Linked DNA regions of Homo sapiens: region 2 is linked to region 1. The links are contacts of gene promoters, found by promoter capture Hi-C in blood cells and fetal thymus (Javierre and others, 2016). All regions are on one chromosome and are shown on one strand. Each heading gives the region's core, a stretch centred on a gene start or on the middle of the fragment in contact. The rest is flanking DNA. Distances are from core to core; before and after follow the strand shown.

Region 1 (6,859 bases), core at 1,591-4,090:
CTATCCTCCCCCTAGCCACCCCCGTACTTTTCTTCTAGTCCTTGGGAATTTCTGTTATACGTGTGTGAATTTTCTTGTTAAATATCTGCCTTCTCCTCTGGAATGGGAGCTCCATGACGGCAGGGGCTTTGTTCGACTTGTTCACCGCGAATCCCTGTGCCCCTGACATGCCGTAGGTGCTCAACAAATACTTGTGAAATGAATGTATACATATGATTCTGGCCCTTGAGGAACCTAAACAGAATTTCCCATCCCTAAATGACAATGCCACGCTCAGCTGCCCTCCTCTCCTTTCTCCTGTACAGCCCAGCTCATCACATTTTAATTTTTTCCCTAGCCTCAGCCAGCCTAATTACCCACAGCACCGGTGTGAACCCTGGTGTATGCGACGATAAGTGAGTGTGCCCAGGCTGATATATCCTGATGGTTTTCCAGCAGGGAACTGCGTCAGAACCTCCTGAGAGCCTCACTGCAAGCATTTGTGGCTGTCTTCTTTCCCCTATCCCCTGCTGAACAACAGTCTCCAGTGCTGAGGCTGGGCCACGTGGATTTGGAAAAAACTTCTCCTGGAGATTTGGATGCATGTTACTGTAGTTGTCTGCGGGGTGGCCATGGAGAGTAGAGGCTAGGAGCACTGCCTGCCAGGGTCACACTGGCTGAGTGTGAATCTGCACAAGCAACCTCACGTTGCTTGGAATACAGAATGGAGCCTAGCTCGGGAAGGTGTTATTAGGACACATCGAGAGAAAGTTTGTAAAGTGCTTAACACCGTGCCTCACTCATAGTAAGTGCATGGTCAATGTCAGCTTTCATTAAATGATGACTTTCCTCCAGGAGTGATGTAGTCATTCTCAGTTTCCCTACAGGAGTTAGGACAGGGCCTTTGCTGCGGTGGACGGTCAGCATGTGTAGTTAGCTGACATGCTGCTGAAACAAACATGCTATGACTTCTCCCATCTTAAAGAACAATCCTTTGTCTTGAACCCGCTTCGTCCCTTCAGCGGTCACCCCATTTCTTTGCTTCTCTTTATAGCAAAACTCATCAGAACTTTCTACAATTCCTCCCATTCTGGCATCTTTTACACATTTTATTAGGGAAATGTCAAACATATATTTTGCCAGTCTTCTACTTCCCAACTTTTTTGCTACAGTGTTATAAAGCAAGCCCCAGAAATATCATTTCACCCACAATGTATCCCTCTAATAGGTAAGAACTTTAAAAAGATATGAGTACCATAATCATACCTAACTAAATTAACAATTTTCTAACATCACCTAATACTTCATCTACGTTCAAATTCCCCGACTGTCTTAAAAATGTCTAGTTCCAATGGCTTTGTCTAAATCAAGCCGGATCAAAGGTCCACATGTTCTATTTGGTTGATTTGTCTCTAAAGTCTCTCCTCCCTTCTCTCTCAAACCCACTAATCAAGCCTCCAAATCCACTCCCAAGACTATGCTTTTCAAGGTCACCAATTACCTGAATGTTGCTAAAGCTAATGGACAGTTCTCAGTCTGCATCCTCCACGTTTCAGCAGCCTTTGAAACGCTCTTTGCCAGAACACTAGGTGCTTCTCCTGGCTGTTCTCCTCCCTCTGGGTGCTCCTTCTCAGCTCCCATGCCCACCTTTTAGTGTTGTGTGCATTGCAAATCTGCCCTAGGCCTCTTTCATCTTCTGTTCTCACTCCTTGGTGGCGTGGCCCAGTCTCAAGGCTTTAAAAGCATCCCAAAGTTATACCTCCAGCCCATTCCAAATGCCTACTGCACATCTCCTCTCAAACATCTAAGAGCTGTCTCAAACGCCATCCGTCAAATGCTCAAACCTCCTCATCCCCCATGGACTTCTCCATCCCATCCTTCTAATAACTTTGGCCCCAAACCTTGAGCTCATCCTCAACTCCTCTTTGTCTCACATCCCACACTGATCCCTCAGGAAGTACTGTTGTCTTGGCTGCAGATCATACTTTCATTGCTACTACCCTGGTCCAAGCTACTAGCATCTCTTACCTGGGCTGTGTAACAACCTTCTACCTGAACTCCCTGCTTCTGCCTTTCTTCCCTCTTCAGTCTATTCTCAAACCAGCATCCAAAGTTCCTTTTAAGCACCCTCTGCTCAAAGTCATCCACTGGTTCCTAGTTTTTCTGAAGGTAAAAGCCAAACACTTCCTAACGGACTCCAATGCCCTCAACAACAAGAAACAGGGGCATTTCTGGCAGGAAAATTCTTCACTGTGTGGTCTGTCCCACACACTGCAGGATGTTTGACATGGCCCTTACCCACTGCATGCCACAGAACAACAACCTTCCTCATCCAAGCCCCATCAGCATTTGTGACAACTAAAATGTGCCCACACATTCCAAATGCTCCCTGGTGGACCTGGAAATCCCAGTTGAGAATCTCTTACAAGATCTGCTACGCGCCTGCACCCTCCTACCCTCCCATGCCCCAACAATCTCTCTGACTTGGCCTCAGGCGCCTCTCCCTGTGCTCTCGGCCCTTGTCTTACTTGAACAACCTGGCAGGGTCCCACCCTTGGCCTCTATGCTAGCTGTTTGTCCTGCCAGGAATGCCCGTCCCCAGACAGCCACAGAACTCCCTCCCTCCCCTCCTCCAGGACTTTGCTCAGGTGCTGTCTCCCCAGGGCACCCAGTTTGAAAGTGCAGATTCCTTTATTCCGGGTCTCTTCTCTGCTTTTTCTCCAGGGCTCTTATCCCATCAGATGCACTATAAGTTTTCATTAGTGATCTTGTTTGTCTGTAAGCTTCATAAAGGAATTTGGGAGTTTTTTTGTTCACTGCTATACCCCAGGGCCTAGAATAGTAACTGGCACACAGCAGATAATAAATATTTGTTAAGTGAAAGGAAGAATACAGATGCCAGGAAAATATATACTTACAGAAAGAAGAAAACAAGCTTTTCTAAGCCACAAGAATAAAGAACTAATTTTGTTCTTAGCAAGGACTGGTGTGTGCTCAGCCTGGGGTGAAAAGTAAGGAGTGAGGCTATAAGAACATCTATTTATTTATCAGATCGGTTCAGGAAGGCTTCCTGAAACTGCTGGGGTTGTAGGACTCACCTTCAGCTGGTTTAGAGCCAGATGCTAACACCCTGATGGCTCCCCCAAACTTGATAACTGCTGACAACAAAGGGAGCCCCGGGGAGCAAAAGTGAACCAAGCTGGAGTTTTCAGACGGAGAAGCACTTGCCGAATCGTATTTCTGCTGCAACTGACCCATGTCTGCAGGAGGCTGCAGCAGCACGTCAGCCAGAGAGGCAAGTTCAAATGCAGCTGCTCAATCATACCTGCTTCCTCCCCTCTCTGGCCCTCAGAAAGCCCACCTTAAATAATTACTTGCCTTCCAAAACTCTCAGCAGACAGCAGAAAGGACCTAGCTTCACAGCCATACAGTGGAATATTTTGCGGCTATTAAAAAAGAACGCGGCAGCTCTTTTTATATTTAATAAGGAAAGATCACTAAGATACATTATTAGGGAACAAAACTCAAGGTGCAGAACAGCATATAGGATACTAGTATCTCTGTAAAAAGAAATAAACATTTTGCTTAAATGTACATATAGCTGGAAAGACGTGAGAAATAATAGTGGTTGCTGGAAGGTGTGGGGGCGGGCAGGAATTCGAGTGGTTAGGAAACAAGGATGGGGGCGATGCTTTTCACTGTAAACTCTTTTCTTTTGAATCTTGTACTAGGTCAATGTATTGTCTATTTGAAAAGAGTAAATCAAGCTACTCTGGAGGCTGAATTGGGAAGATTGCTTGAGGCCAGGAGTTCGAGACCAGCCTGGGCAACATAGGGAGGCCTCCGTCTCTACAAAAACAAAGAAAATTAGTCAGGTGTCGTGATGCATGCCTGTAGTCCTAGCTACCTGGGAGGCTGAGGTGGGAGGATCACTTGAGCGCAGGAGTTCGAGGCTGCAGAGAGCAATGATTGTGCCACTGTACTCCAGCCTGGGTGACAGAGTCACCATCTCTTAAAGAAAGGAAAAGGTGAATTACATTAAAAGCAAATTACATTAGCAATTTTGTGTGTATGTTAAAAGCCACCTGTACAAGTACAGGTGGCCAGAAGCCAGAGTCCTTCAAGTGAAAGAGCCCTGAGGCTTTAGCTGACCTCATGTGTGATAGGTCCCATCTGTGGCTGGGGCTGAGAAAGCCAGTGGGTCCCTAGCCACCATCCAAAGCTAGGCGGGGGGTGAGGGAGGGCCTCCCTGTGCCCAAAGCTGGTCTGGCCACAGCCCCTGCGCTGCAGGGCTCACTCCCAGCTCCCTCTGTGTTCTCGGAGAGCAGTAACCCAGGTGAGGCAGGGCCACCCGCAGAACCATGAGGAGCAGGAAGTGCCAGGATCAGGTATGTTCTCCTGAAAGTAGATGGCGGAGGGGTGTCAGTGGACTGGAAGGCAAGGGAAGGGAAGGATGGCTATCTGCCTTCAAATATTTGAAAGGGTGTGAAGTCAAACAGGGAAGGAGTCCTGTTCAGAGCCCCTTAGAAGATGCCGGGGTCAGGGTGGGGGGTGGTGAGGCCTCTCACCTTCAAAGAGCACCTTCTGCCACTGGAAGGGTCCCAAAGTGACAGCAACCACCCCGCGTCGAGCCCTCACTGCGTGCCAGGCACTCGGCTTGCCTGACGCTTTACTGGCATCACCCCTGAATTTTCCCAGCAATCCCAGGAGGGTGGTACCATTCGTATTCCTTATTTTACGAACGGGAAACGCGAGGCTCTCATTGCTTGAGATCACACAGCTAGTGAACGACTGAGTCGAGATTCAAACCCAGGGCCCTGCTCAGAACTATTATGCCGCACCGTAGGCTGAGGAGACCTACAGCCCTGGGAATTCTAAGACTGTGATGCGATAAAACACAAACATAAACATGAGAAGGCCAAGATAAGGCTGGGAGTTTTAAATTTATTTTTTTTTTTTGCTGAGGTGTCTTGGGTACAAGGAAGACAGGAAAGGTGGATGCTGAGTAGAATTTGTACCTCGGTGTCACCGTCCTCATCCCCGACCCCTCCTAGCCGCCCCCGCCTCAATGTCCCCTTCTTCTCCAAGGCAATCTACTCGCACCATCACACTAGCCCCGGCTGCGGCCCGTGGAGGCCGAGGAGGGGCGCGCACCCAGCACCCAGCACCCGGCCCGAAGGCCGCGGCCCCGATGCTCCCCGGGCTGGCGGCGGGCGGTGCCGCAGCGCCGAAGCCCCTTCCGAGCCCCCTCGGGCCGGGAACGCGGGAGGAGGCGGCGCCCTGCGCCGGGAGGCCCCAGACACCGTGGGCGGGCGGCTGTGCGCGGGGGTTGGGGCGCGGGGAGGCGGGGGCGCCCGGGCCGCGCTTCCCTTCGCGGGTGACTCAGCAGCCGCCTTCCTCAGCGGGGCGGCGGGGGCGCGCGGAGGCTGTGGGCACGCGGCTTCCCCGCGCCGGGGTGCAGGTCCTCGCCGCCGCCCCCGCGAGGAAGTGCGAGGCTGGACGCTGGGAGGGGGCGCGTGGGCCGGGAGATTCCTTCTCGCCTGCCGGCTGCCAGCCGGCCCGCCCACGCCGCCGAGATCCCGACTCCACGTTCCCTCCCCACGTAGGAGTCGGGGCAGCGCACGGAGGCGGAAAGGCTTTCCCCAGGCTGGCCCGGCGAGGGTCGGGGGCGCAGGGACTGAGGGGACACCCCAGGGGGGCCAGCTGCACCCCCGCCCTCCCCTCCTGCTGCTCCCGGGTTTTACGCACTCACGGTCGGAGGGAGCCGGCTGGAGATTTCTGGGGTCTTAGATGTGGAAGTCCGTGCAGAATTTACCTCGTTCTGCCCCAGGGCCCCCGGGTACCTGCCACCTTTTGTTCTTGAAAGGGAGAGATGCCCCTCTGCTGAGCCAGCTGGAGCGTCCTTTCTGTGGCTCTTGCCGTGTAGAAGTCTTTTTTCGTATCTAAGCTCGGTCCCTCCTGCTGCGGTGACCCCCAGACAGCTCTGCTTCGCCAGACTCGGCGACTGGGTAGAGTGGGCAAGAAGGAGGACCAAGAACGTCCCCACTGAGCAGGAGGGGAAATCAAGGCCCAGAGAAGGGGAGGGGCTTCCTTCAAGCTTATAGCTGGGGGTGTGTGAGAGAGGTGCTGACCTCAGTACTCAGGAGTTCCGGCTTCTAGGTCAGAGTCCAGCTGCTTGAAAAGATAATATTCCTCCCTGGTGCTGCCCAGCGCAGTGCCTCTACCTGTCTCTGGAAATCCCTTTGGCCTTCTCTGATGGGTTCTTACCATGCGTTAAGTCGCATCAAGACTGTCGGAGATGCCAGATGATGCCGGTTCGGAAGCATCCAGGGTAAAGACCGGGCTGTGCGCGGGAAACACGGAGGCTAGACCCAAGCAGGAAATTCCCACCCGCTTTGCAGAGTTTTTGTAGCTGCTGTTTTTAAATAATCATTGGTTGATTTGATGCATTGAATGAAAATTGTGGTAGATAGGAATCATTCATCAAGGAAGAAATTGTGGAACTCCCTTGTCTCTCTGCCTGGGATGGGGCGTGCATTCCTGATTGGAGGCAGGTGGTTGGCTGGTTTGACCTGGTGCATCCAAAGCCCTGAGAGGTCATTGGTACCAGGCCCTGGCCACAGCTAGGCCGAGATATCCTGCAGGGAAAATCACACTACAGCTTTGTGTGTGTCTGGCCGCCCCGTACCTGAGCTTCCAGACACTATACCTCCGTAGAGTTCAGTGGCACAGCTCCTGTACCTGTCCCCTTCCACACAGCCTTCTTCCCAGGAGCTCACGCCTCTGGGGCCTGGTCTCCCGCATGCTCCAGACAGAGTGGGTATGGAGGCGTGGTAGATTTGCCCCATTTTACAGAGGGGAAGAACCAGGAGGATCTGGC
Region 2 (6,859 bases), core at 1,493-3,992, 69 kb before region 1:
GACATGGCATTTGAGCTGAGGCCTGAAAGATGAGTAGGAGGTGGCCAAAGGAAGGAGAGAGGGGAGAGCTGTCAGGTGGGCTAAGGGAGGAAGCATATGCAAAGGCTCACGGCAGGGAGGAGCTTCAAGGACCTAGGCAGGGTCCGCAAGGTTGCAGTGCAGACAGTAACAGGGAGAATGGTGACTGTGGGGCAGCAGCCAGGGCTCAGTCTGTCAGCTTTGTGGGTCATGAGAAGGATTTGGGAGTTTATCCTGAATGCACTGGGACACAATAGAGGGTATGATCAGAGGAGCGACAGGGTCCTGTTTGTTCTAAGAAGATTTCCCTGGCTGTTGGAGAGAAAATGAATGGCAGAGGGGCAGGGAAGAAGACAGAAGCAGGGGCCCAGTTAGGATGCTACTGCAGAGGTCCAAGCTACAGATAATGGGGCTTGGGCTAAGGCAGGAGCAGTGGAAACAAACTGAATGAATGATCCAGCTGCATCTTAGAGGAAGAACAGATGGGACTCGAGGTGCAGGGAATGTGGGAAGTGAGGAAAGGGAGGCATCACTGGTGCATCCTGGAGCTCTGGCTGGAGCACCCAGGGGCCTGGAGGTACCGTTCTCTAGTGTGAGTGTATCATGGTGCAGACACACGCTGGAGGAGAGACGGAGTCTCCATCTTGGGGCACACGAAGTCTGAGGTGTTCTTTCAGATAGCTACCGTGCCTCCCCTCTACTGAATCATCTCAGGAGAACCCAGGGGCCTGGAGGTACCATTCTCTAGTGTGAGTGTATCATGGTGCAGACACACGCTGGAGGAGAGACGGAGTCTCCATCTTGGGGCACACGAAGTTTGAGGTGTTCTTTCAGATAGCTACCGTGCCTCCCCTCTACTGAATCATCTCAGGAGCACCCAGGGGCCTGGAGGTACCGTTCTCTAGTGTGAGTGTATCATGGTGCAGACACATGCTGGAGAGACGGAGTCTCCATCTTGGGGCACACGAAGTTTGAGGTGTTCTTTCAGATAGCTACCACGCCTCCCCTCTACTGAATCATCCTCAGGAGCACCCAAGTGCTTGTCTTTTTCATCTTACAAATCAGAACCCTGCCTTGAGCCCTCGTTGCTCTCTAGACACTGCCTCTCTTCTCTCCTCTTTGCTGCCTCCACTTCCTCTTCTCCATTCACTCTTCAACCTGCTCCACTCAAGCATCCAACCCCAGGCACCATTAACACTTCTCTTGTCACGGCCATTGCTGGTTGCTATGTGGCCAAATCCAACGGCCTATCTCTGTCCTCATCCCAGCCCCTTGGCAGCATCGACATGGTTAATTGCTCCCTTCTGGAAACACCGTCTTCTTGGCTTCCATCACCCTCCCTCCCCAGGTGGACTCTTTCCTCTGGAGGAGCCCCTCATCCATTGCAGCTGCCCCTCCTCACTGACCTGAAACTGGGCCCTATCCCCCTCTCAACAACCACTGTCCAGGTGGCTGCCCCCATGCTAGTGGCTGCCCCCATTCCAGTGGCTCTAGCTAGCTAACAGTCTAACTTGCTTGAGTAAATATTTGACAATGTCTAGTTTGATAGATTCTTCAGATGAAATGTCCCTGAATCCAGCATCTCCCTGCCTCTGAAATGGAAAATCTGTACGTGTTTATTTGGTAGATGGAGTACCAACACAGGGGGCCTGAAGCACACGCGTATTCTGAATTCTCATCAGCTCGGAGACCACTGGCTGTGCGCTGGCTGCCTGGCTCCCTCCCACGTGGGCCATGGCCCTGCTGCTTCTCCACGGCCCTGGGCTCTGCCAACTTCTCCCCTCCCCATGCCCACAGCCGCAGTTTAGGGCTTCATCCTTTCTCATCATGGCTGTTAACAGCAGTAGCCTTCTCACCAGTCTCCCTGCCTCCAAACCATCTTCAGAGCCATCCTTCTAGGCTGCTAACTTGGCATCATAGCTCATGTCCCTGCTCACATTTCTCCCAGGGCTCCCCACATCCCTAGTGTGAAACCCAAGTTTCTCAGCAAAGCAAAGACGCCCTGTCTGCTTCCAGCTTCTCTCGCCGCTTCCCCAGCATGGTCCCCCCCTGCAGCCTGGCTCTCACGCCCCCACTTTGGTGCATGCTGTTATTTCTTCCTGCTGCCCAGCCCCAACCCTGCAGGTCTCTGTTTAGCTCTCATCCTCTCTAGGAGTCTTCCCTGACCTCCGTTGTCCCCGGAACCCACCTTCTGTCGACCATTGCGTTTATCTCCCTGTGTCATAACATTTGCCTGCCTGTCTTCCCCACGAGGCTACGGGCTCCTTCAAGATAGGGCAGTTATTTTAATCTCTGCCTCCCTGGTGTATGGGCACCCAATCACTGTTTTGTGGGATGAATGAATGAGTGAGTGAGAGATGACCAGGAATGACTGCATGCCGGCAGCTGGAGAAGGAGCCTCAGTGGCCTGTGCCTTTGGAAGTTCTACCCAACGGCCCAGGATTACTCAGCCTGCTTTGCTGCCAAGATTATCTGGAGCTGACACCGAGACCTGTGATGGACTTGCAAATGGCCCCGAGGCTTCCAGACTCCAGGCAGTGAGGCAGTGTGGAGGGCATAGGCCCCCTTCCTCCCACTGCACATGCAAGTGAGTGAGTGCTGAGAACTAGAGCAATGGGCACCGATTAGACCGCTTCCAGCCAGGCATGACCGGACCTGTCTCAGGAGGTGCTGCTGACGGGCGCGTGGATCACGAGTGGTACCGGTTTTGCTAAGGCCTCCCCCTCTTTCCTGTGAGCTTCTGCAAGGTCTGCAGCAAATACCTCACAAGCGTTGGGGAAAAAGGATGTATGTTCCCTGCCTCTGAAGAAACAGGTACAATCTTGCATAAAATTGCTTGTTAACATTGATCTGTGCGTGGAATCAGTTTGTGTTGCAGGGAAATGAAGCGTCCTACACGCCTGTGATCAAAATGAATTTCATCATCTCAACCTTCTTTTTTTTTTTTAATGATAGCAAGACAGTGTCTGGCAGACAAAGGAACTGGTTGGGAGCTGAAAATAGGTAATGGTAGCAGCAGGGATTTTTAATTGGCTGGAAGAGACGGCGAAGATCTGGAAGGTGAAGCCCTAGCTCGTGCTCCTGGCTGAGACTAAGCCCAGGTTTCAGGATTAGGAAGGAAATCTAAACCACCTATTGCCACGGAATGTAGAAACCCTGGCTTTATTTGGCAGTTGTTGGCTTCTACAATTCAATTAAAAATATCCCCATCCTCCAGAGAGTTATTTTATTCGTCAGAATTCATAACATGCTCAACAAAGGTCAAGGCGTTTTGGCAAAGTGCGATGCGGCTAAGAAAATAGAAGAGAAGGAAGCTGATGCAGGATCTGCCAGTGTTCCTGGTGATGTCATGAGGACGAAGAAACTCTCTTTTGAGGGGGCCTGGGTAGGGCTGGCTGCCACTCACACCTTGAGACTCAGGTACCCAAAGAACTAAGTTCAAACTACCCTTACAATTTAGAAGCCCTGAGCTGATTTTTCTTTTGCTGGGCTCGGCAGCATCCCTGTTTGCTGGTGGGTCTCAAACTGAGTGATGCATTGGAATTGCGTGGCGGGTTTATTAGTGCACGGATTGCTGGGCCCCGAGCCGCAGAGTCTGATTCAGTGGGCCTGGAGCGGGAACTGAGAGTTTGCATTGCTAACAAGCTTCCAGGTGAAGCTGACGCTGCTGGTCCAGGGACCACCTTTTGGAAGCACTGCTCTATGCCAATAACAGTGGGTGGATTAAGAAAAGGCCGTGGAGCTGTTACTTCAAGTCATGGAGCCTCTTGGTGGCTCATTTCCTCACCTTGAGAATGGAGACAACACTGAGAACATCTACTGGGCAGGGGTGTTATGAGTGTTAAAGGAGGCAGTGGGTGTGAAGTTCCTGGTATACAACAGGGCTTAATACATGATCATTTTCATTAGGTGTGGGCTGACCCGCCTGTCAGTGGACAGGACCCCTCCCTGCCCCACCGACTAATTCTGCCTGGAATTGTATCATTAGACAGCCATCCGTCGGCCCTTTAAGATATACATGCACCAGAGAGAGGAAGCTAAATCTGGCTCAGACCTCTTGAGACTTACGAATCAGTTTCTCAGCTGTGCTTTCTTCCCAAATTGAGAGGATCGGGGCATAGCAAATAACGCCAAGGTAAGAGGTGGGAGAGTACCTGATTTTGTTCAATTTCTCTGCCGCTGGCCAGGAGACTAGTCATTTCTTTTCCCCAGGGCCTCAGTTTCTGCCAGGGTAAAATGAGAGGGCTGGACCAGCTGATTGTCTAAGGGGTCTTCAGTGTCATGATTCATGATGGGGGACTGACAAGGACTGTGAGAGCAACCGGACCACAGGGGTCCTGGAATGACGCACGGAGGCTGGATGGTGCAGGGTTAAGGGCTCAGGTGATGAGTCATTGTGCCTGGCTTCAGACCTCAGCCACTGATCAGCTCTGTGACTGTGGGCAAGCTCCCCAACCTCTCTGTTCCTCAGTGCCTTCATTGGGTACAGATTAGCAGCACGTCCCTCCCGGAGTCGCTGTGAAGATGGAACGAGGTTTTGCATGTAAGCCTCTCAGAACAGCACCTGTGGCACACAGCACATGCTGATCTGTGTGAGCTGGCATAATATTTCACGGCCTGCTTGGTCACAAACGGCCCTCCTGGAGATATGACAGCCCTGCCCTGGAGACAGTGACACCCCGGAAGACCCTTCTAGAAGGCCCACGTCCGAGTGGCCTGTTGCAGCCACAGCTATCACACAGAGGAGACTGACTCCTCCAGAGCAAAGGCCTGAGTAGTCAGGGGAGGACTGGGTGGCAGGTAGGTCCATTTTTATATAAAAGTCCAATTTATATGCCAAAGTGACGAAGCCAAAGGGAGTCTCAATCCTGGACTGAAGGTCCCAAGGTCTCCAGCTACAGAAGTAAGTAGGTCTTAAACTCTCACAACTGTTGACTGTTCAGGAGAATCCCTTGTCTATCTGTGGTGGGAGTGGGGCAGGAGAGAGTGGAGAGGTGAAGGGTCAAGGCCATAACCCCAAAGACACCACTTTTGAAGATGTTCTCCTTCCAGCCTTCTGGTGCTGGCAGTGTACCGTTTCCAAAGCAGTGGAAATGACCCTAACTCTTCTATTCCTGCCTGCCTGCACTGGGTCTCTGTCTCTCTCTATCTATCTCTCTCTTTCTTCCTCCTCCCTCCCTCCCTCCCTTCCTCCCACTCTCCTCTCTCTCTCTCTTTCTCTCTTTCTTTCTTCTTTTTTGAGACAGGCTCCCACTCTGTTGTCCAGGCTTCCAGGCTAGAGTGCAGTGGCACGGTCACAACTCACTGCAGTTTCCATCTCCTGGGCTCAAGTGATTCCCCTGCCTTGGCCTCCCGAGTAGCTGGGACCACAGGTGCCCGCCACCACACCTGGCTACTTAAAAAAAATTTTTTTGTAGAGATGAGGTCTCTTTTGCCCAGGCTGGAGTGCAGTGGTGCCGTAAGAGCTCACAGTAGCCCTAACCTCCTAGGTTCAAGTGATTCTGATGCCTTGGCCTCCCAAAGTGCTGCGACCACAGGTGTGAGCCACAATCCCTGCCTGGGCCTCTTTTTATCTCCTCCGGACACATAAGGTCTGCCTGGGCCCCAGCCTGCTCTCCCCTTCCTCATGGGAATTCCTCAGGAATAAGGTAACTGAGATTATACACAGCAATGTGGGCAGGACATTCTCAAATGATTTCTTCCTAGCAATGAAAGGCCAGAGCCTTCCAGACTGTTGAATTTGACAGACAATCTGTCTTCATTTCTAAACGTCCTCTAAGAAGAACAAATCTGTTATACTCTGGCCAACATATTTCCATGGAAATAAAATAATGAAATCTGACCCAAACGTCAAACCCTGATATGTCTTGGAATTTAACAAAGGATGGAGCAGACGCAGTGGAGGGAAGGAACACCCAGGAAGCTTTCTTCCGGCAGCTCAACCCAGAAGCTGCCTTCCTGCATTTCATGGAGATGGTAGACACCAATGCTCTCCACGTGCATGGGATTCACACCAGAAAAAATCATCCAGGCCAGAAAGAGGCCGCTCACAGCCAGCATGGAACGTTCCCCATCCGCTGGACTTTAAACCTGCTGAAGCGAACATTTCAGAAAGGAAATAGAGCAGAGCCAAATTCCCCAGCCATGTGAAAACCGAGAGGGAGAGGCTTCCAGCCCTAGAGGGCCCTAGCTCTGGCTGCTGTCTGGCTCCTGCCGCTGGCCTGCCACCGCGTGACTCTCAGCTTCTGGACCGGGCTTCCTCAGGCTGCAGGATGCTCCCCAGATTGAGCTGACCCCCTTCCCAGCAAAGCCCAGCAAGTTCCAGCAAGTTCTCATTGTCTGCCTAGTAGACCTGAGTTTGAGTCATGTTTGAGGAGGTTTCCTTGTGCGCGGGGAATGGGATGGCGGGGAGTGGAGGGTTCTAATGTCTGTGCTTTTAAGTAGAAAAGATAATAATGAAATAGCTAACATTTAGCCTGTAGTCCCAGCTACTCAGGAGGCCGAGGTAGGAGGAGCACTTGGGCCCGGGAGTTCAAGTTGCAGCGAGCTTTGATCATGCCACTGCCCAGTAGCCCTGGTGACAAAGAGAGATCCTGTCTCTAATAGAAAAAGAAAAGAAAGAGCTAACATTTACAGATAACTTACTAAGCATCAGGCACTTCATGTACATTGAAAACGTTTGATTCATATGAGACAGGTACTCTTACCAGCATTTTACTAATGAGGAAACTGAGGCTGATTTCTTCTCTAAAAACAAACAGGCTGGGCCTAGTGATTCATGCCTGTAATTCCAGCATTTTGGGAGGCTGAGGTGGGAGCACTGTGTGAGGCCAGGAGTTTG

Evidence for each region. The method cuts DNA at HindIII sites, captures the fragments that hold promoters and counts their contacts. A CHiCAGO score of 5 or more calls a contact.
Region 2: a contact is called between the fragment with the promoter of IQSEC3-AS3 here and a fragment that was not itself captured in region 1, in 4 of 17 cell types (M1 macrophages, megakaryocytes, M0 macrophages and 1 more). The highest score is 9.2, in M1 macrophages.

Annotation. Positions count from the first base shown.
Region 1 is chr12:76,585-83,443 of GRCh38, reverse strand. The region is part of intron 1 of IQSEC3 (IQ motif and Sec7 domain ArfGEF 3); the gene reads right to left. Among named protein-coding and RNA genes, the nearest start is that of IQSEC3, 13 kb to the right of the region's middle. The HindIII fragment of the contact is 152 bases long and covers 2,765-2,916 here.
Region 2 is chr12:145,052-151,910 of GRCh38, reverse strand. IQSEC3-AS3 (IQSEC3 antisense RNA 3) reads left to right here and starts at 2,742. Exons shown (of 10, transcript NR_033859.2): 1 at 2,742-2,832. All of the region lies in intron 5 of IQSEC3 (IQ motif and Sec7 domain ArfGEF 3), which reads right to left. RefSeq lists enhancers at 5,745-6,244, 6,245-6,746. The HindIII fragment of the contact is 4,344 bases long and covers 1-3,665 here.